Regions from separate parts of the Homo sapiens genome. Here regions 1, 2, 3, 4, 5 and 6 are each linked to region 7. The links are contacts of gene promoters, found by promoter capture Hi-C in blood cells and fetal thymus (Javierre and others, 2016). All regions are on one chromosome and are shown on one strand. Each heading gives the region's core, a stretch centred on a gene start or on the middle of the fragment in contact. The rest is flanking DNA. Distances are from core to core; before and after follow the strand shown.

Region 1 (2,967 bases), core at 253-2,752, 200 kb before region 7:
TCTGTTTTTACCTATGGGACCTGTCTGAGAGTCCCATCACCTGAAAGTTTAAGGATGTGAGATATTTTCTTTCTAAAAGTGCTTCTTTGCACTGAGGAGCAACCATCTCATGTCACAGTGTTTTTAGTAATTATTGCAGTCATAAGAGGTAAGCACAGCAAGCATCAAGTGCTGCACATACTTGCTTCACTGAACACTTCACCACCATCAACTGTATATGATAAGTTTGCCAATAATATGTCCTGCATTTCATGACTTATTTGGATACCATTTCCTTTCAGTAAGGATCTGAGCACTGCAGTCAAGCTTAGTTGAAAAGAAAACTGAACCAATCCCCAAACACAATACAAATGTTTGAAAAGACAAACACATACTGGGAGAAAACATTTGCAATGCATTTAACTATAAATGGTTAATATCTAGAATAGAAAAATGAATTTCAACAATTTATAAAAGAAGGACAAACAACACAAGAGAAAATAAGCAAAGCATATTAACTGCCAGTTGTATACAGGGAACTGGCCAAAAATATAGGGTAACTTGATTTATTCAGCATTTAATATTTAAGTAGTAGTTCTCTTTATTTCTATTTTTTGACTTAAATGTAATTTATTGATATTAATATGTCAATATTAATATCTTTTGGTTAATCTCTTCTGGGTACTTTTTCCTTTTGTCATCTTTTTTGGAACCTTAAGTTATTGGGTTTAACTTGCATATAGTTGATAATTTTTAACATAATCTGTAAATCTTTTTTCAGTGGTGAGAATCATCCATTTATATTTATTGTGATTACTGATATATTTGGAATCTTTCTACCATTTTATTTTGTGTTTGCTGTTTGTCCTGCTTTTATAGCATATTTTATTTCCTTTTATACCTTTGTCTAAGGTTAATTTCTCTTCTTTTATTTCTTTTCTCTCTTCTTTCATAATTTATGCACCCTATTTCTATTTTTCTAATGGTTTTCCTGAAAATTTTAATATGAAAATGAAGTTAGTATTTTCTTTTCCTACTCTTTCAAACAACAAAAGAGACCTTACAACACTTTAACTCTGATCAACTCCAACTCATCTTTCATGATACTGTTGTGCAGCATTTTATATCTGACTTATTTAACACAAAATTAGACATTATTGTTTTATATGTTCAATATATGTTCTATATGTTTATTTATACTGGTTATATTTTATATTCTTTAGCATGTGAGGTTTTTTTTCTCCATTTGATATTGCATTCATAGTCTTCCTAGGATAATATTCTTTCCTTTTGAAGTACATCCTTTTCAAGATGCTTTAGTGAGTGTCTATTAGAGATAAATTCAGTTTTTACTTGCTCTAATGTTTTTCACCATCATTCTTGAAAAAATACAAAAATGCCAGATTATTTCTCTCAACACTTGGAAAGATTCCTCTACTGTCTTCTGGCTTCTATTGTTAAGAAATTTGCTGTCAATTTTATACATGTGTAGGATCATTTTTCTGTGGCTTTTTAGAGATCTCTCTACCTTTGGTGATCTGTTAGAAAACAAGGATGAATTTCGGTATGGATTTCATCTTTGTTATATCTACTTAAGACTTATTTAGGTTTTGTCTATGGATGGAACTAGGGGCCATTATCCTTAGCAAACTAACACAGGAACAGAAAATCAAATACTGCATGTTCTCACTTATAAGTGGGAACTAAATGATGAGAACACATGTACACATAGCAGACAGCAACACACACTGGGGCTTTTCAGAGAAATGAGGGTAGGAGAAGGGAGAGTATCAGGAAAAATAACTAATGGGTACTAGGCTTAACATCTGAGTCATGAAATAACCTGTACAACAAATCCCCATAACACAAGTTTACCTATGTAACAAACTTGTAGTTGTACCTCTGAACTTAAGAGTTAAAAAAGAGTCATTTATGCTTCTTTAATACAGAGATTCATGCCTTTGATTGATTAGGAAAAATCTTAGTCTTTATCTGTTTAAATAGATCCTCTCTTTCCTTGTCTCAATTATTTTTTTCTAAAAGTCCTATTAGATATATGTTCAATTATATTTTTCATTACAAGTTCTTTTTGGTTTCTTTATAAAATATTTTTATTGCATATCCTTATTTTTCATATTTTCTGTTGCAGTTGTTCTCATTCAGTGTGGCTAATTTTGTGTATGTGTTTTAATTTTGATTGTGAATTTATATCCAGTATAACCTTTTGGTGGAATGTCCACCAGGCCTGGATAAGGTTACATCCCTTTCCAGAAGATTTACACTTTCCTTCTAACATAACTCAGCATCTTATTTCATGATGTTTATTTTGTTCTTTCTTTCTGTTTGTTTACTTGTCTTTTGCTATGCATGCTATAATTTTGTTTGCTTTTGAAGGAACTTAAGTTCATTTCTCAGCTTGTGTTTCCCTAATCCACAGAAATAGTGTAAATTTGAACACCAAACCAATGTGGTTACACACTCCCAGAACCTTTTTATTGTTTGCCCACTGAAAGTAGTAACCAAAACAAATAAGTATTTTTGTATTCTACCTTTCTTCCTAAGAAGTTTTTCTTTGGTTGTTTTTGTTTTGCTTGGCTTTTTTCCATCTACTCTTTTATTAATATTTTAGCCCTTTTAATTTTCAACTTTCTTCAAGAGCTTTATTTTCAACCTCTCTCTCTTTGCCTAGGTCCAAGGCCTGGTCTTCTGGGAAAGCTTCCTGTTTTTCTGAAACTATTCTGCTGGGTAGTTATAGATTTCAGTTCTATTTCCCAATCAGTTTGCTAACTCTCTTTTTTTTAACTCACAAGGATCCCCTTACGTTATAGTCAACACATTAAAAAAAAAATGGTTTTACTTTACCCACATACAAATCTGCATTGTAGTGAGGCTTTTCCAGACATGTATTCTGCATTATTGCCAGAAATAGCAACCCTGCAATTTTAATTTTAAATTCATCTTTGATTCAAGAGTTCCTTAGAGGATAAC
Region 2 (2,754 bases), core at 144-2,643, 210 kb after region 7:
AGCCGAGATCATGCCACTCCATTCCAGCCTGGGGGATAGAATGAGACTCTGTCTCCAGAAAAACAAAAGAATGCCTTTTTATTTCATTTTACAAAATTCTCATCTTTTTTCAGAAATAAGATAAAACGAAAAAATAAAATGTACAAATAAGGAAACATGCTTGGATGTAATCTGAAAAATTGCAGAGCATACATTTTGCCCCTCCTACTACTTTCACACTTATGGAATGGGGTATACTTTTCACAGTAGCCACATGAAGGGACCTGGTGTGCCGCAGAAGCAATAAACCATGGGGTCAAGTTTGAGCAATGAGAGAAAAAGGTAAGAGAGAAGTTTTTATGCTTTCAATGGATTAGGGTTTCTGTAAACCTTGTTTGGAGCTGTATTTTGCAGACAAAACAACTGGCTGATCTTATTGTGCAGCTTTATATTGCTTCCTTTCCCTCCCTGCCTCAGTTCTCCATTACTTTAACTGTATCATCCTATAAAGCACTATCCTTCATGCTTTAGTAAATGAAAGAATCACCTGAAGAACTTTTAAAGTACCCATGTCAAGGCTTGTCCTTAGACATTCTGATTCAATATATCTGCAGTGGGGCCCAAGACCTTGCCATTTTTACAAGTTCCAAGGCAATGCAGATGGACCTGTTGGGCAGACCAGACTTGAGATACTACAGACTAGAGCATTAGCATGTAAGCTTATCTTTAGGCTCAGCTTCCATGTTGTCTGGCTAAGACAATATTATGAGCAAAAAGGTAAATTGGCATGGCAATTACTAAACATTTTACCTATGACTATCTGTGATGAGGTAGATGAGGGAGTTAATTTATTTGGAGCATGGTATCTATTGCATGCAACAGATGTAAGAAAGATGATAATTATGATTGTGAAGTAGGTTGGTTCTTTATTTTTTTATTGAGGAATAATTATGCCTATTTATGAGGTACAATGTGATGTTTTGATAAATGTACGTATAATATAATCAAGTCATGGTACTTATATCTATCACCTTAAACATTTATTATTTCTTTTTTGTGAGAACATTCAAAGTCTTCTAGCTATGGGGAAAATACAATGCATTATTGTTAACTATAGTCACCCTACTGTGCAGTAAGGTATGAGAACATATTCCTCATAACTGTAATACTGTATCTGTTGACTAGCCTCTCCCCATATCCTTCTCCTTCTGTTCTCCCCAGTCTTTGGTAATCATTATTCTGTTCTCAACTTCTATGGGATCAAATTTTTAGATTGCATACATGAATGAGAACATGGAGTATTTGTCTTTCTGTGTCTGGCTTATTTTACTTAACATGTCCTCCAGGCTCATCCATGCTATTGCAAAATTACAGGAATTCATCTTTTTATGGCTAAATATATTCTGTTGCATATGTGTGTATATATATGTGTGTGTGTGTATATATATATATATATATATATATATATATATATATATATATATGACATTTCCTCTACCCACTCATCCATTGATGGGCATTTACATTGATTTCATGTATTTACTATTGTGAATAGTGCTGCACTAAGCATGAAAGTACAGATCTCTCTTCAACATACTGATTTTATTTCCTTTGGGTATATACCCATAAGATGGGTTGCTGTTTTATATCTAGGTCTATTTTAAATTTTTTGAGGGTGCTCCATACTATTTTCTATAATGTTCATACTAATTTACATTCCCCAAAGTACACAAGAGTTCTTTTTTTCATACATCCTCTTCAGCATTTGCTATTTTTAAATTTTTCAATAGTAGTCATTCTAACTGGGGTGAGGTGATATCCCACTGTGGTTTTGATATGCATTTCCCTGATGGTTAGTGATGTTGAGTATTTCTTCATATACCTGTGAGCTATTTGTATGTCTTCTTTGGAGAAAATATGTTCAGGTCTTTTGTCCATTTCGTATACAGATAATGATGATGATGATTATTACTGCTTTGAGTTGTTTGGGTTCCTAAGAAATTCTGGATATTAACTCATTTTTAGATGTATAATTTGCAATTATTTTCCCACATATCTAGCTAGTCTCTTCATTCTGTTTATTGTTTTCTTTGCTGTGCAGAAGCTTTTAGTTTGGCGCAAACTTTTTGTTTATTTTTGCTTTTGTTGTTTGTCCTTTTGACATCTTGTCTAAAATAATCCTTGCCAGACTGACGTCATGTAATATTTTCACTATGTTTTATTCTAATAGTTTTATAGTTATTGGTCTTACAATTAAGTCTTTAATTCATTTTGCACTGGTTTTTGTACATGATGAGAAATGGGAGTGTAGTTTCATTCTTTGTATATGCATATCCAGTTTCCAAGCATCATCCAGCAAAGAAACTGTCCTTTCTCCATTGTATATTCTTGGCACCATTGTTGTAAGTCATTTGGCTGTATAAATGCATGGATTTATTTTAGGGTTCTCTCCTTTCTTTCGCTGGCTTATGTGTCTGTTTTTATGCCTGTATGATGTTGTGTTAGTTACTATACCTTTGTAGTATATTTTGAAATCAGTGCGATGCCTCCAGCTTTGTTTATTCTGTTAAAGATTGCTTTGGCTATTTAGGGTATTTTGTGGTTCCATATAAATTTTAGAATTTTCTTTTTTTCTATTTCTGTAAAAAATGACAATAGAACTCTAATAGAAATTTCATTGAATCTGCAGATATATTTGGGTAGTTATAGATGTTTTAACAATAATAATTCTACCAGTCCATGAACACAAGATGTCTTTCTATTTATTTGCATCTT
Region 3 (3,026 bases), core at 490-2,989, 230 kb before region 7:
GGCCATTTTTAGCCATCATTGTAGTTACCACAACATAATTAACTTTTAAATCTATATAGCCCCACCAAACAGTGTGTTCTATAATGGTAGGAAATATTTCTCTTTCGTAAGATTCCCAAGTAGGTCTTGATACATGAAGGATTTTTAATGAAACGTGTGTGGAATAAGTGAAAACCTTATCTGTATTTTATGTTCTCAAGTTAATGACTTCCCACTATAAGAACCTCAGTTCTACTGTCAACTACCCTCTCAGTCAGTCACTGAAATCTGTTGAGTCTGCATTAGGGACCTCTACTCCTTGTCTCCACTGTCACTGACAATCTTCATTTTACCTGCAATGAACTGAATGTTTGTGTGCCACCAGATTCATATCTCAAGCCCCTAATCCCACTGTGATAATATTTGGAGGTGATACATTTAGGAGGTAATTAGGTCACCAGGGAGGGTCCCTCACAAATGAGATTATTAGTGCCCTTACAGGAAGAGGCCAGAGAGCTCTCTTGTCCTCTTTCTGCCATGTGAGGACACAACAAAAGTCAGCAGTCTGTAACATGGATGACAGCCCTCAACAGAATATGTCCATGCTGATGCCCTGATGACACACTTCCAGCCTCAAGAACTATGAAAAATAAATCTCTGTTATTTATAAATGACCCAGTTTATGGTACATTGTGAGAGTAGGCTAAACCGAATAAGACATCTCACTTGAACTGTTAAAATTACTCCCTAACTGGTTTCTGTAACAAGACCCTTATAGATATCATCCCTAGATTTCTTTTTTAAACAGAAAAAAATCAAGCATGTAAATTCCCAGGTTTAAAGCCTCTCTTGGTTGCCTACTGCCCAGAAAATAAAATCCAACCTCCCCAGTTGACATTCAAGACTTTTCAGACTCTGGTTCCAGCGTACACCATCTCCTGCCACTTCCCTCAAGGCTTCTGCCACACCAAATTTCTAAAATTTCTAAGTGTTCATCAAACATGCCAGGTTTCTATAACCTCCAAGTCTTTGCATAAGCTTGAAAGCTTTCTTTTTCCACTTTTGTCCATTTTCATAATCCTAGGACAGTCTTAGTCATCCTTTAAGATCCAACTCAAATGCTAACATTGCTACAAGCCTTTCCTGACACCCCAAGAGAATTTCTCATTCTCTTCTCAAAGATTCCACAGTGCTTTGTTTCTATCTCTTAACGACATTTATCATGTTACACTGTTTTTATCGTTTACCTGTATGTCTCCTCCATTAAACTACAACAAACTCTTATCACAGTAACTATCTATCTGTCTCCCCCTCCTAAAAAGGCTGACCAGTCTAAGTACCAAAAAAATGATTACTAAACTCATCATCCAATCAATCCACTCGCTCATCAGATATTTTAGCACCTACTCTCTATTTGATATTGTATTATAGTTTTAGCTTAAAAAATAAAATGTTCCTCTATATAAACTAAATTATAAGCTGGCCAAATAAAAAGATTTCCTTCATTTTTTTTCAATTACAGGAAGTAGGTTAATTAAAGAGAACAAGATTACTGGGAGGTTGGTTAGGAGTGTGCAGAGGAGGTGATAATGAGAATTTTTTTTTCCATGGAAGAAGTGAGATTACCACCATTAGGGACATTTTTTATTTCACTGAAGAAGTGTGACTTCCAGAAAATAAAAGGCAAGTGCTGTGAACTCAAGACAATGAATTTATGTCTAGCCTGAGATGCCAACTATTTCCAGGCATGCTTCAAAATCATTTGCTGGGGTCAATCTTGCCTTTCTCCTAACCACTTCCTATATTTTCCCTCCTGTTTCCCCCAACTATCCATGCTGAACATTTTCTGTAGGAAAGCAAGATTAGGCAAGGAAAAGAGGAGATGTGAAGTTTGGTGGTAGGGAAATGCTTTATGAATGACAATGAAGGAATAATTTGTTCTTGCATGTTTTTCATCAATCAATGAATGAGATTTTTATCCCCAGTGTGCCTCAATGCAAGGCATTGGCTTAGTTTTGCTGTCAAACAGTGGTGCCACACACAAGGACACAGAGAAGAGCTGTAGAGGCAACCAGGTACTTTCCACCTTCCCTATACTTAGCAATAGATAGCAAAGGAGTCCTTGTGTTCATTCTGCATTGCCCTTTTAGGAAAAAGATGAGACAAATTCAAGGTAAAGTAATTTAACAGAAAGACTTGTCTACACAAATTCCTAATAAATGAAATGGACAAATGTAGTCGTGGAATGGGGCCTGGATTAAATGCCAAGCACTGCTAACCAACTGTGAGATCTCAGCTGAGGCACTTGTTTTCGCTAGGTCTCAGTTTTCTTCTCTGAAAACAAGGAAAGTGGATCACATGGACATCCCTTTCTGCTTTAATCAGAGGTAAGGTCTGAATAAAGTGCAGAATTCTACATTTCTTCAAACATAGCACGTCAGGAAAAAATGTGAACACAATGAAGTCCAAGCTTAGACAAATGATAATTAAACACATAATTGACAAATAAAAAGGCAGGTAGAATTCTCATTCTTCCATTCTAAATTACAGTTCAAGCTGGTGATTATTTAAGCAAAAATGTAACTTTTAGGAGGAAATTGAATTATTTCCCACTGTAAAGAATTTTTAAGATGGCAAACCTAAAATTAATCATGCCAAGGTTCCTGCTCGTGCTTAAATATATGCATGACTCCATGTCATTTTGTAGTGCCTTCCTGTCCTTGACATAATTTTGTTTTATATACTTAACACAATAAACTCTTTCATAGAAAGGAGAAAATGCCTGCCCTTCTGGAGAATCAAATTATCTAAACTGGGTCCATTGTTATTTCCACAAACAAGTGGAGGAATTATTGCTATATTCCTTAACGATTACAGACAGAGAATACAATGTTTCAGGCCCTTCACCTTTATTCCATCCCTTTCTCAGCAATTACAGACCGAGAATACAATGTTTCAAGCATTTCACCTTTAATCCATCCCTTTCTCACCCCTTGGGAAAGCCCAGCATTAGAAAGAGTCCCTAGTGGTTACACTTTTCACTTTTG
Region 4 (3,005 bases), core at 64-2,563, 250 kb before region 7:
CCCCAAAAAAGGACAACAGTGTGTATGTCCTCATTGTGTTTGGTTATCTCTAAATGAAAATAAATGTGGTGCCCCCTGGATCGCCGCCAGAACAAGGTGATGATATAGAGATGGATTCATGCCACTTTCTGTTCTCTTGTAACTCTTTTAGGAAAGAAAAGTTCTTAGTGCACAATTATATCATTAAAAACAAGAGCTGTAAAGCCCTCATGACAATAACATGCCTGATTCTTCACAGATTGAGAATAATCATGCTTCAAAGCCCATTAAAATCTTGAAGAAACCACAATTTATGAGGTAGAAATTAAGCCACACAAAATAGACAAAGCTATACTGAGCAAAAAGGACAAAATTGGAGGACCCAGATTATCTGACTTCAAGTTATACTGCAGAGCTATGGTAATCAATACAGCATGATACTAGCATAAAAACAGACACATAGACCAATGGAACAGAACAGAGAACCCAGAAGCAAGTCCATACATGTACAGTGAACTCATCTTTGACAACAGTGCCAAAAACATCCATTGCAGAAAGAACAGTCTTTTTAATAAACGGTCCTGGGAAAACTGGATATCCATATGCAGAAGAATGAAACTAGACTGCCATCTCTCACCATATATAAAAATCAAATGAAAATGGATTGAAGACTTAAATCTAAGACCTAAAACTATGAAACTACTACAAGAAAACATGGGAGAAACTCTCCAGGACATTGAACTGAGCAAAAAATTCTTGAGTAATACCCCATAAACTCAGGCAACCAAAACAAAAATGGACAAATAGTATCACGACAAGTTAAAATGCTTATGCACAGCAAAGGATACAATCAACAAAGTAAAGAGGCAACCCGCGGAATGGCAGAAATTATTTGCAAACAATCCATCTGACGAGGGATTAATAACCAGAATACATAAGGAGCTAAAGCAATTCTATAGGGAAAAAATCTAATAAACCAATTTTAAAATGGGCAAAAGATCTGAATAGACATCTCTCAAAAGAAGACATACAAATGGCAAACAGGCATATGAAAAGGTGTTCCACATCATTGATCATCAAAAAAATGAAAATCAAACCTACAATGAGATATCATCTACCCCAGTTAATTATTGCCAAAAGACAGGCAATAACAAATGCTGGCGAGGATGTGGACAAAAGGGAGTCCTTATATGCTGTTGGTGGGAATGTAAATTAGTACAATCACTATGGAGAACAGTTTAGAGATTTCTCCAAAAACTAAAACTAGAGCTACCATATAATCCAGTAATCCAACTGCTAGGGATACACTCAAAAGAAAGAAATAAGTATATTTATGAGATATTTGCACTCCCACGTTTATTGCAGCACTATTAACAATAGCCAATATTTGGAAACATCCTGTGTCCATCAACAGATGAATAGATAAAGACAGTGTGGTTTTCCATTCCTGAGTTACTTCTGTGTTCTCACTGATGTGTAGGAGCTAAGCTATGGGGACGCAAAGGCATAAGAATAATACAGTACTTGGGAGGCTGAGGCAGGAGAACTGCTTGAACCCAGGAGGTGGAGGTTGCAGTGGGCCGAGATCGTGCCACTGCACTCCAGCTTGGGCAACAGAGAAAGACTCAATCTCAAAAAAAAAAAAAGATACAGTAGACTTTGGGGACTTGGGGTGACAAGTGGGAGTGGGGCGAGGGATAAAAGACAACAAATATGGTGCAGCGATACTGTTCGGGTGATGGGTGGCACCAGGAGCTCACAAATCTCCACTAAAGAACTTATGTAACCAAATACCACCTGTACCCCAATAACTTATGGAAAAATAAAAAAAAATTAAAGACAATGTTGTACATATACACAATGGAGTACTACTATTCAGCTATTAAAAATAATGAGATTCTGTCATTTGCAACAACATGAATGGAACTGGAGGTCATTATGCTAAGTGAAAAAATCCAGGCAAAGAAAGCCAAGCATCGCATGTTCTCGCTTATTCGTAGGAACTAAAAATTATAACAATTGAACTCATAGAGATAGAGAGTAGAATGATAGTCATCAGAGACTGGGAGGGGTAGTTGGAAGAGAATAGCGGGGTGGAGGTGGGAATGGTTAATGGGTACAAAAAATAGAAAGAATAAATAAGATCTAGTAATTGGTAGCACAACTATAGTCAATAATAATTTAATTATACATTTAAAAATAACTAAAAGATCGTATGTCTCCATCAAAATATCCCATATACTCCATAAATATACACCTGATATGTACCCAGAAAAAAACATTTTAAAATTACAAAATTTAAAAATTAAAAAAAAATAAGCCACAGATTTGGGACATCTTTCTGTTCAACGCAGTTCAAACAGTTAATCACATTATTGCACAGATACAATCCATAACATAAGATCTTAAATGCGTGGATACAAGCCAATGTCTCTCTAATGACCACATAATGAAAGTGTATATAATTAGGGGTATGAATCCTCACTAGAAAAGTATGTTTCTAGGTTTTGGGTACTAGAACTCCTCCAACTTCTCCAAATAGCTGAGACCACCTAGGATTTCAGGATACAGAGAAGAGAATTTGTTTGATTCATGGAATGTTAGGACATGTAACTGATAATAACAATTATAATATTACTGTTATAGATGACATATAGTATATGCCATGTAGTGAGGGTAAGCCTGTCATGTGAATTATCTCATTTAATTCTCACAAGACCCTATGGAATAGATTCTAAAGTTCCACAATTACTGGATGAACACCCTTGGAGAAAAATCAGTTCTGGAATTCCAAATATTTTGGATTTTAGAAAGGCAATATTAGATAGATAGATAGATAGATAGATAGATAGATAGATAGATAGATACACACACACACACACACACACAGAGCTGTGTGATCCCAGTGTAATCTCATCCATGAACCAATATTGATATATCATTACCCACTAGAGTCCCAGCTATTTTAATGGTTTTTTGTTTTTGTTTTTGTTTTTGTTTTTGTTTTTGTGACGGAGTTTTGCTCT
Region 5 (2,961 bases), core at 324-2,823, 220 kb after region 7:
CAGATTTAAACCTAACCATTATCAATAATTACATTAAAGGAAAATGATCTACATACTTCAGTTAAATATAAGAGATTGCCAAATAGGATATAAAAGCAATATTTATCAAAATGCTGCCTATTATAAACACACTTTAACCAGTTAAATAACCAGTTATATAACAAAAGTAACCAGTTATATAATGAAACATTTAAGTTAAAAGCAAAGGATTGGAAGACATATGTACCAAGCTGGAGTGCCTGTAATAACATCAGGCAAAGTATAATAGATACCACAGCACAAAGAATAGAGCAGGAATAAAGAGTATTATTTCAACATGGCAAATAGGTCAATTAATCAAAAAGAAATAATACTTCCAAATATTTATGCTCCTGAAAAGAGAAATTTAAGATACCTGAGGAAAAATGAGAAATGAGACCACCTACAATTACAGAAGAATTCAGCTTCCCTGTTTTATTATTAGTGAAACAGATAGACAGAAAATCATTCAGATCATAGAGAATTTAACCAACTCTATCAAAAATCTTATGTACTTAATCTCACCTAGTGTAGTTTTTATCTCAAACATTGTGTTTGAAACTTTTGAAGGGTAATTTTGATATTTATCTTCCATCTCTCTACTTAATATGCTCATTTCCACTCTGTTTTATTGTACATATGGTTTATAGTTACAGTGATTACTTTAATGATCTTGTCTACAGTGTTTTATCTGTAAAATATATAGTCTCAATTGATTAATTGATTTTACCTCTCATTATGGGTTGTATTTTTCAGCTTGATTGTTTGCCTGGTACATTTTGATGGGTTATTAGATATTATGAATTTACCTTTTCTGTGCTGCATATTTTTTATTTCTGAAAGTATTCTTGGGATTTGTTCAGTGACATAGGTAAGTCACTTTGAAACAGTTGGGTCTTTTGGATATTGCTTTGTTTTTGGAAGAAGAGTAGTCAAGGGCTAATTTTATATGATCACTGAGGAAACTGAGGTTTGAAATGTTCCCAACACATAGAAATAATTAATACTTCAGGTGATTAATACACTAAATACCTTGACTTGATCATTATTCATTCTATGCATGTAACAAAATATCCCATGTACCCAATAAATATGTACAAATATTATATACCAATAAAATATAATGGGTTTTATGTGTTAAAAACTTTATACAAATTATTATTTTTATATATAGAAAGATATCTTTTTTTTCTTTATGTTGATGCCAAAATTGATCCAGAGTGATATATATAGTCTTATTTTTTTTCATTTTAACTTCAAGAATTAATGCAACTAAACCTCAAACATGTGAAGAGTCAGATGAAAATCATTGACCTCTGTGTGGGACAAAACAGCTGTGGGACATCATGAGAGTAGAATTTTGCTGTGTAAAGGAAGAAATGTTTTAATAGTTGGAACTGACCAAAAACGGGATGAGTTACTCACTATAGAAAATGTTCGATGAAAGCATATGAAGATCGATCATACTAATAAAGATTCCTTGATTTTGAGGAAATCGTGTGTCCCACAGATTCTTACCAGCTCAATTACTCCTAGATGTCAAAGGAAGGTTAGAGTTTCCTTAACCCTAACTAAAGATTTACTGATCATTTTAAAGTGCCACATGCTTCAAATTTCATCTAGAAAAGTAGCACAAAAATCCATAGGCTCAAAGGTGGCAGCGTATGTCTGGCTTAAGTATTTAAAGTTAAAATGCTGAAGATTTGCAATTCTATTTCCTTTATAGACCATTGATAAAATGATTTTCCTATTTTTACAAATGTTCAAAAATAGATTTATCAAAAACCATCACAAAATTCTTTTAATACGTATGAAATCTTTTTCAATTCAAATGCACTGTGTTTTAGGAGCTTACAATACAAATTTCTTAGTTAATTCATCAGAATACTTGTTGAGCACCTTATCATTTGCAAGTACAATGATAAGCACATGGACTGTGTCTTCAAGATGCTCACTGGGAAGTTTTACATCTAAATGAGTAATCATCATGCTGTTTGGTGATTTAAGAAGAGAGGAGTTACTGTCTACGAAGGACCTCCCAGAGGATATGGTAATTTACATGGTCGTTGAAGAATGAGAAATCACCCTGAAGAACTAATATGGATAAGACCATTTCAGCTGGGAAGAACAACATGTTCAAAATAACTAATTTGCATGTTTTGAGAACTGTATGCAATATGATAATGTTGCAGTAAAAATGAGAAAGGGAAACAGTGGAGATGAGGCTGATAGGGCTAGATTATAAAGAGTTTTCTGTGCCATTTTAGTAAAATTAAACTTTATTTTCTAACACAATGGTAAGCCAATGAATTATTTAATCTTACTTTATTACCAAGGTTGTAACAATCAAAACACAAGAAGGTTGGGAAGTCAGGTAACAATAAAGTAGTTCTGAGAAAAAGCACAGATACTGCTCAGAACAAGGAAAGAACAGTAACTTAATAAAAGGAGGAAGGTGGGTTCCATGTTTTGAGGTCAGAGAATATAATTTGCCTATTATGACTAAAATTTTGACTACCCTGGCTAGCATCAAAATAGCACATAAAGCATTGCCTTAATTACCCTCAGGTTGAACTACAGACAATTTAGTTAAGGAAAGGGGGAATATGGCATGCTTTTGATTTTAGGAATTTATAGTCTAGAGGGTCAGCTTACTATTTTTTTCAATTTATATTTTCTGATAGATTACCACCAAAATCATAGAATTTTAAAATCAGTTTAAACTTCATGGATATTATACAAAAATCTGGAAAAGACAGGCAATAGGCAATTAGAATGGGCTATATTCTGGGGGTATTTTATATGTCTTTTTATGTGTTTTACTATGCATCACATGAACTGTTACTCCAACAAAAAACAAGATTTGAAATTAATGATAATTATGATAGTATAAATAAAACAGAATATTTTATAAAAATTAATATATTACAGAAATAGTACACT
Region 6 (2,707 bases), core at 99-2,598, 240 kb after region 7:
AATAATGAATAAATGGCAGTACATCCTTATCCATCAATAATTACTTAAAATGTAAATGGATTATTCAAATGACATAGAGTGGTTGAACGGATTAAAAAAATGAGATCCAACTATATGCCACCTACAAGAGACTCACTTTAGGTTTAAAGGCACACATAGGTTGAATGTGAAGGCACTAGAAAAGATATTCAATTAAATGGTAATCAAAAGAGAATGGGCAGGCTGGATTTATATCATACGAAATAGAGTTTAAGTCAAAAACTATCACAAGAGACAAGGTCATTAATAATGATAAAGGGATCAATTCATCAAAAGGCTATAACAGTTGTAAATATATATGTACCCAATATCAGAGCACCTAAATGCATAAAGCAAATATTGCCAGAACTGAAGGTTGAAAGAGGTAGCAATACAATAACCATAGGGAACTTTAATACCCCACTTTCGACAATATATCGATCATCCAGGGAAAAATAATCAATCAGAAAATATCAGACTTGAATGACAGTAGAGACCAAATGGACCTAATAGACATATATAGAACATATATATAGAATATATATATATTTGAAGCTGTCACAGAACATTCTCTAGAATACATGATATGTTAAGCCACAAAAAAACTCTTAATAAATTCAAGAAAATTAAAATCATATCAAGTATCTTTTCTGATCATGATGGTATGGATCTAGAAATTGATAAAGGTGGAAAATTAGAAAATTCACAAATATGTGGAAATTAAACAACACATTCTCAAACAGCCAATGAGTCAGAGAAGAAATCAAAAGGGAAATAAAACATATATTGAGACAAACTGCCAAAACTTATGAAATGCAGCAAAAGTAGTTCTAAGAGGAAAACTTATAGTGGTAGTTGTTTACATTAATTTGTTTTTGTTTTTGTTTTTAGAGACAGGATCTCACTTTGTTGCCCAGGCTGGAGTGCAGTGGTGCAATGATAGCTAACTATAACCTTGAATCCTTGGGCTCAGATGATCTTCCCAGCTTAGTCTCCCAAGTAGGTAGGACTACAGGCATGGAACACCATACCTACTATTTTATTTTATTTTTTGTAGAAATTGGGTTGCCCAGGCTAGTCTCGCACTCCTGGCCTCAAAGAATCTTTCTGTCTTGGCCTCTCAAAGTGCTGGATTTACAGGTGTGAGCCACTATGCCCAACCTCAAATCTTTCTTTACAGCTAACTTGACACCTCAGAAAAATAAAATAAGCAGAACAAACTAAGCACAAAGATAGACGAAGAAAGGAAATAATAAAGATTAGAACAGAAATAAATAAGGACTAGATTAGAACAGAAATAAATAAGGACTAGAAAAGATCAATAATACTAAGAGTTGGCTTTGTGAAAAGGTAAAGTTGACAAGACTGAATTATAAAGAAAGAGAAGTATGACCAGACTAATAACCAATAAGGAGATTTAATTAGGAGTCAAAAACCACCCAACAAAAAAATGCTCAGGACCTGAAGAATTCACAGGAGAATTCTTCCAAACAATTAAAGGAGAATTAATGCTGATGCTTGCCAAACTTTTTCAAAAAAATTGAAGAGCAGAGAATACTTTCAAACTCAATTTTATGAGGCCACCATTACCCTAATACCAAAACCAGACAAGAATACTGTGAGAAACAAAACTGACAGTCCGATATCTTTGATAAACATAGATCCAAAAGTCTGCAAGAAAATACCAGGAAACCAAATTCAACAGCAGATTTAAAAGATCAGCCATCATGGTCAAGTGAGACTGATGCCTGAAATGCAAGGATAGTTTAACATATGCAAGTCAATAAATGTGATATACCACATTAACAGAAAAATAAAAATTATATGATCATCTCAATAGATGCATAAGAAAATTTGAAAAATTCAACATGATTTCATTATAAAAATACTTAATAATGTATAGAACATAAATATAACCACATGCCTCAACATAATAAAGACCATATATGACAAGCTCACAGATCACATCATACTCAATGGTAAAAAGTTGAAACTTTTTTTCTAAGATCAGGAAGAAGAGAAGACGACAAGGGTGCTCATTCTTAACTTTTCTATTCAATATAGTATTGTAGGTTCCAGTCAGAAAATTAGTCAAGAAAAATAAATAAAATACATTCAAACTGAAAGGTAAAATTGTTTCTGTTTGCAGATATCATAAGGAGGAAAGCCTAAAACCCTACCAACAAACTGTTTGAACTAATTAATCAATGCAGTGAAGTTCCAGAGTACAAAAGCAGCATTCAAAAATCGGTAGAGTTTCAACACACTAACAACAAACTATACAAAGAAGAAGTTAAGAAAATAATACCATTTACGATAACATCAGAAGGAATAATATACTTAGGAATAAATTTAAGGAAGAAGGGGAAAGATCTGTACACTAAAAACCATAAAACATTGATGAAAGGAATTGGAAAAACACTAACATAAAGGTATTCCACGTTCATTGATTGGAAGAAATAATGTTATTAACATGTCCATACTACCTGAAGTGATTTATGGATTCAGTGTAATCCCTATCAAAATTATAATGTTATTTTTCATAGAAATACAATAAAGACTCTAAAATTCATATGGAAACATAAAAGACTCCAAATAGCCAAAGCTGTCTTGAGCAAAAGAACAAAGCTGGTTGTAGTACACTAACTGATATCAAAAGATACTATAAACCTATAGTAGTTAAAACAGC
Region 7 (2,912 bases), core at 43-2,542:
CAATTCCTTATTTCATGGAAACTTGAATTATCTTCCAAAAACACATAAGCAAAAAACAAGACCTTCATTAGGCCATAGCATACTGCAGCTGTCCACAAACGGAAAATTATCAGAATCATTTATCAGAGCAAAAGCACGAAATAAACTTCTACTCATGTTATTACATCTGCTTTTTGGTGAATAGGTGACTGAAAAAGTTACCGGCTACCACTTTGCACTTCATCACACAATGTAGAATATTTTACTCCCTGGCATGCAACAATACACAAGACTCAAAAGCTTCTGCTCATTCTTAATTCCAACTGAATCCGTGTAAACTAGGAGACGGGGGAAAGGAGCTAAATCAAGACAATAGGATCTTTCAATTCTGAAGGTTTGTTCTTCATCATAACAAATTAAAAAATCTTGAAACTGTTGTTGCCAATGCTAGTTATTGTGGTTTTTGTCCTTCCTTTGTTTTTAGGTGAATGCTTTCATTACACAGGATAAAATGGGTAAACAGAATAGAGAAAAAGTGAAAGAACTGGGAACAAAGCAAAATCTGGAGTCATGGTTACAGTACAAAGATAAACCCAAAGATAAGGAACCAATACAGGCTCTTCCTCACACAGCGGCCGTGAATAAGTCATCAAATCCTCCGGGTAATCTATTGTACCGGCTCTAAAGCTGGCCAGTGACACTTCCTTAGGAGATGCTCTGACATCCCTCCGACAGAAGATGCTGTCGAAATGTAAAAAGCCGGTTACCTAGGGAAATCGGCCAAGGAATGTCAGGAGCTCGAGGCTGGAGACACACCCCGGGGCTGCAGCACAAAGTGGCCTGTTGGTGTTAAGGCCGTGGACAATAATGGAGAGAGTCCAGTACAAGGAAAACAAAATCTGGCCAGAGACTGGGATCACTAAAAGGGCACTCAGGAGTCAAGCAAGATCAGAAAATGGTAGGAAGAGACGTGCAGGCGTCTTGCCAGGGGCAGGATCTGGCTCCGGGCGGGAAAGCCCAGTTGAAGACCGTCTGAGGCGGGGCAGCCTGGTAGCGTTAGCTCCACCGCATCGGGGACTGTCCGGTTCCCTTCGGCCCCAGCCTCCGGAGGCGCGGCGGGACGCGGCGAGGTCCGCCGCACCGAACCAGCCCTCGCCTTCCTGCTACTGGTGTCCAGGGTCCCCAGCTGTTTCGGGCCCGCTCTAGCCGTCCTGCCCTCATCCCTTCATCGCCTCACCTTCCAGTCCCTCCATCGCGCCACCTCCTCGAGCTCAGCGAGACTCCTTCAGCAGCGCCCGCCACCGCCCAGCTCTGGCTGTAGCAACCCAGCCGCACCTCCCACCCGCTAACATTCCGAGCTCCCATTGGTTCCGCAACTGCGGGGGCGGGGATCCGTGGGGGCGGGGCCGCGGCGGAGGCGAGGTTCCTGCGGTCTCCTCCTGGCTGCCACCCCTGTCCGTCTCTCCGGGTTACTCTCCAGGGAGCCGGGAGCCGCTTCAGGTTGCAATCTGCGATGCAACGGCGCCTTTGTTTGACTCCAGCCTTGTTTTGCCTCATACCTTATCCTCCTATTTAGAGTACCTCAGCACCTCATGGGCTCCGCTTCACCAGTTCCTCAATCAGTCAATGCCTCTGACTTCTAGCCGCCATCCCTCCCAGTGGATACTTTAAGCAGGCAAGCAAACCAAACAAACGCCCAGCACGCTTGCATGCAGCAATCTCCGTTTTCCGGTCTTTGGTCGCATGACTTGACCTCAGCGTATCCCCTACACTTGATCTTCACACACAGCTTCATAGGTTAAGACACTTTTTTTCCAGAGAAATCATACTTTCTATCTGCGATTGTGGAACTGCGATTGCTCTAAGCCCTTGAAAACAGTTTCCTCACCATGAAAGCTTGGGCCAAAAATTAGAAGTGAAACCCAGCCCTCCCTCTGTCTTCTACTCTTGGCCTACCTTGGCCCTATACTTTATCATCCATAAACCAAAACAGTCGCCTGGCCTGACAATGTTTGATCGGGGAAGTTTGAGTTGGGGAATTAACCTACAACCTGACAGAATGAGGCCCGCCCGTCTCTAACAGAGTTCAAAACCTCCTGAAGATGAAAGTAACTTCAAAACTAACTCAGACCATTTTAACGGTTTTGCTTACAATTACCAGAACTACATTTCTTTGAAAATTTGATTTAGCAATCGTAAACAAGCTGTACTGTTTGCTGACTATAGCGTATCTACTGGCAAGTTACCAGTATTAATGTGTTGTCCATAACAAACCTCGGATTAATGTTATTGTTAATCTGTTTAATTGAAGAGTTTAACTTCATATCTAACTTCATCTACTATGAAATCAGTTACCTTCAGGAAGCAGGATTCCTCCTACTCTCCACTCACATGAAGGTATGTTTAAACAAGCAAACACTTGAGGGGGCATCATCTCTTACTGAGAAGGTGCTCCAAGTGCATTTGAATGTGGTAGAGTCCATCTGTTGTGTGGAGCCATGTAAAGACCACTTCAACCATGCCTCAATGACTCCCTCCGCCCTTCCCTGGTTCCCCTGGCTCTTCTGCTTCTCTGAGATCCTGGGCCTCCTTGGCCAACCCATAGCCTTGCAGGCAATAAGCTACTCTAGACTGGGTGCTGCGGAAAGGTCCTTTTTCTTCCTTAGTGCTACTAAGGCAAAGGTAGAATTTTTGGTTGGGAGGGAAGGCCTTTTAAAAGAGCATTAAGGAGAAAAAAAAGCACACAGAAGAAAATACAAAAATAAGGAAGCCATTATTTTACAAATTACAAGTTCTTTCACTGAAGGCAAGACGAATATTGAGTTGGCTGATACCTTATTCGACATAAAATCTACAGTAACATTAAAAATAATAAAAATAGCATTAAAGAATAAATCATGTGAGGCATGTTTTAGGCCATTTTCATATATTCA

The links. Contacts are between HindIII fragments. The CHiCAGO score rates a contact against its expected background, and 5 or more counts as called.
Region 1: a contact is called between a fragment that was not itself captured here and the fragment with the promoter of ZC2HC1A in region 7, in 2 of 17 cell types (total B cells and naive B cells). The highest score is 6.6, in total B cells.
Region 2: a contact is called between a fragment that was not itself captured here and the fragment with the promoter of ZC2HC1A in region 7, in 2 of 17 cell types (activated CD4 T cells and non-activated CD4 T cells). The highest score is 7.1, in activated CD4 T cells.
Region 3: a fragment that was not itself captured here is called in contact with the fragment with the promoter of ZC2HC1A in region 7 in 1 of 17 cell types (total B cells); the score reaches 5.5 in total B cells.
Region 4: a contact is called between a fragment that was not itself captured here and the fragment with the promoter of ZC2HC1A in region 7, in 1 of 17 cell types (total B cells). The highest score is 6.6, in total B cells.
Region 5: a contact is called between a fragment that was not itself captured here and the fragment with the promoter of ZC2HC1A in region 7, in 1 of 17 cell types (non-activated CD4 T cells). The highest score is 6.7, in non-activated CD4 T cells.
Region 6: a fragment that was not itself captured here is called in contact with the fragment with the promoter of ZC2HC1A in region 7 in 1 of 17 cell types (non-activated CD4 T cells); the score reaches 6.0 in non-activated CD4 T cells.

The regions. Positions count from the first base shown.
Region 1 is chr8:78,859,881-78,862,847 of GRCh38, reverse strand. The region is part of intron 1 of MITA1 (metabolism induced tumor activator 1); the gene reads right to left. Among named protein-coding and RNA genes, the nearest start is that of LINC02605, 24 kb to the right of the region's middle. The HindIII fragment of the contact is 2,388 bases long and covers 309-2,696 here.
Region 2 is chr8:78,458,103-78,460,856 of GRCh38, reverse strand. The region is part of intron 2 of LOC105375911 (a long non-coding RNA gene); the gene reads left to right. Among named protein-coding and RNA genes, the nearest start is that of PKIA, 57 kb to the left of the region's middle. The HindIII fragment of the contact is 1,385 bases long and covers 701-2,085 here.
Region 3 is chr8:78,896,256-78,899,281 of GRCh38, reverse strand. All of the region lies in intron 1 of MITA1 (metabolism induced tumor activator 1), which reads right to left. Among named protein-coding and RNA genes, the nearest start is that of LINC02605, 60 kb to the right of the region's middle. The HindIII fragment of the contact is 1,424 bases long and covers 1,028-2,451 here.
Region 4 is chr8:78,916,403-78,919,407 of GRCh38, reverse strand. The region is part of intron 1 of MITA1 (metabolism induced tumor activator 1); the gene reads right to left. All of the region lies in intron 2 of LOC105375912 (a long non-coding RNA gene), which reads left to right. Among named protein-coding and RNA genes, the nearest start is that of LINC02605, 80 kb to the right of the region's middle. The HindIII fragment of the contact is 3,702 bases long and covers 1-3,005 here.
Region 5 is chr8:78,440,772-78,443,732 of GRCh38, reverse strand. All of the region lies in intron 2 of LOC105375911 (a long non-coding RNA gene), which reads left to right. Among named protein-coding and RNA genes, the nearest start is that of PKIA, 74 kb to the left of the region's middle. The HindIII fragment of the contact is 6,955 bases long and covers 1-2,961 here.
Region 6 is chr8:78,422,825-78,425,531 of GRCh38, reverse strand. All of the region lies in intron 3 of LOC105375911 (a long non-coding RNA gene), which reads left to right. Among named protein-coding and RNA genes, the nearest start is that of PKIA, 92 kb to the left of the region's middle. The HindIII fragment of the contact is 4,374 bases long and covers 1-2,707 here.
Region 7 is chr8:78,664,469-78,667,380 of GRCh38, reverse strand. ZC2HC1A (zinc finger C2HC-type containing 1A) reads right to left here and starts at 1,292. Exons shown (of 9, transcript NM_016010.3): 1 at 1,217-1,292. The coding sequence starts at 1,232. It overlaps LOC105375911 (a long non-coding RNA gene), which reads left to right and starts at 1,402. Exons shown (of 4, transcript XR_007060972.1): 1 at 1,402-2,376. RefSeq lists enhancers at 1,139-1,188, 1,153-1,660, 1,661-2,169 and a silencer at 1,259-1,478. The HindIII fragment of the contact is 1,596 bases long and covers 282-1,877 here.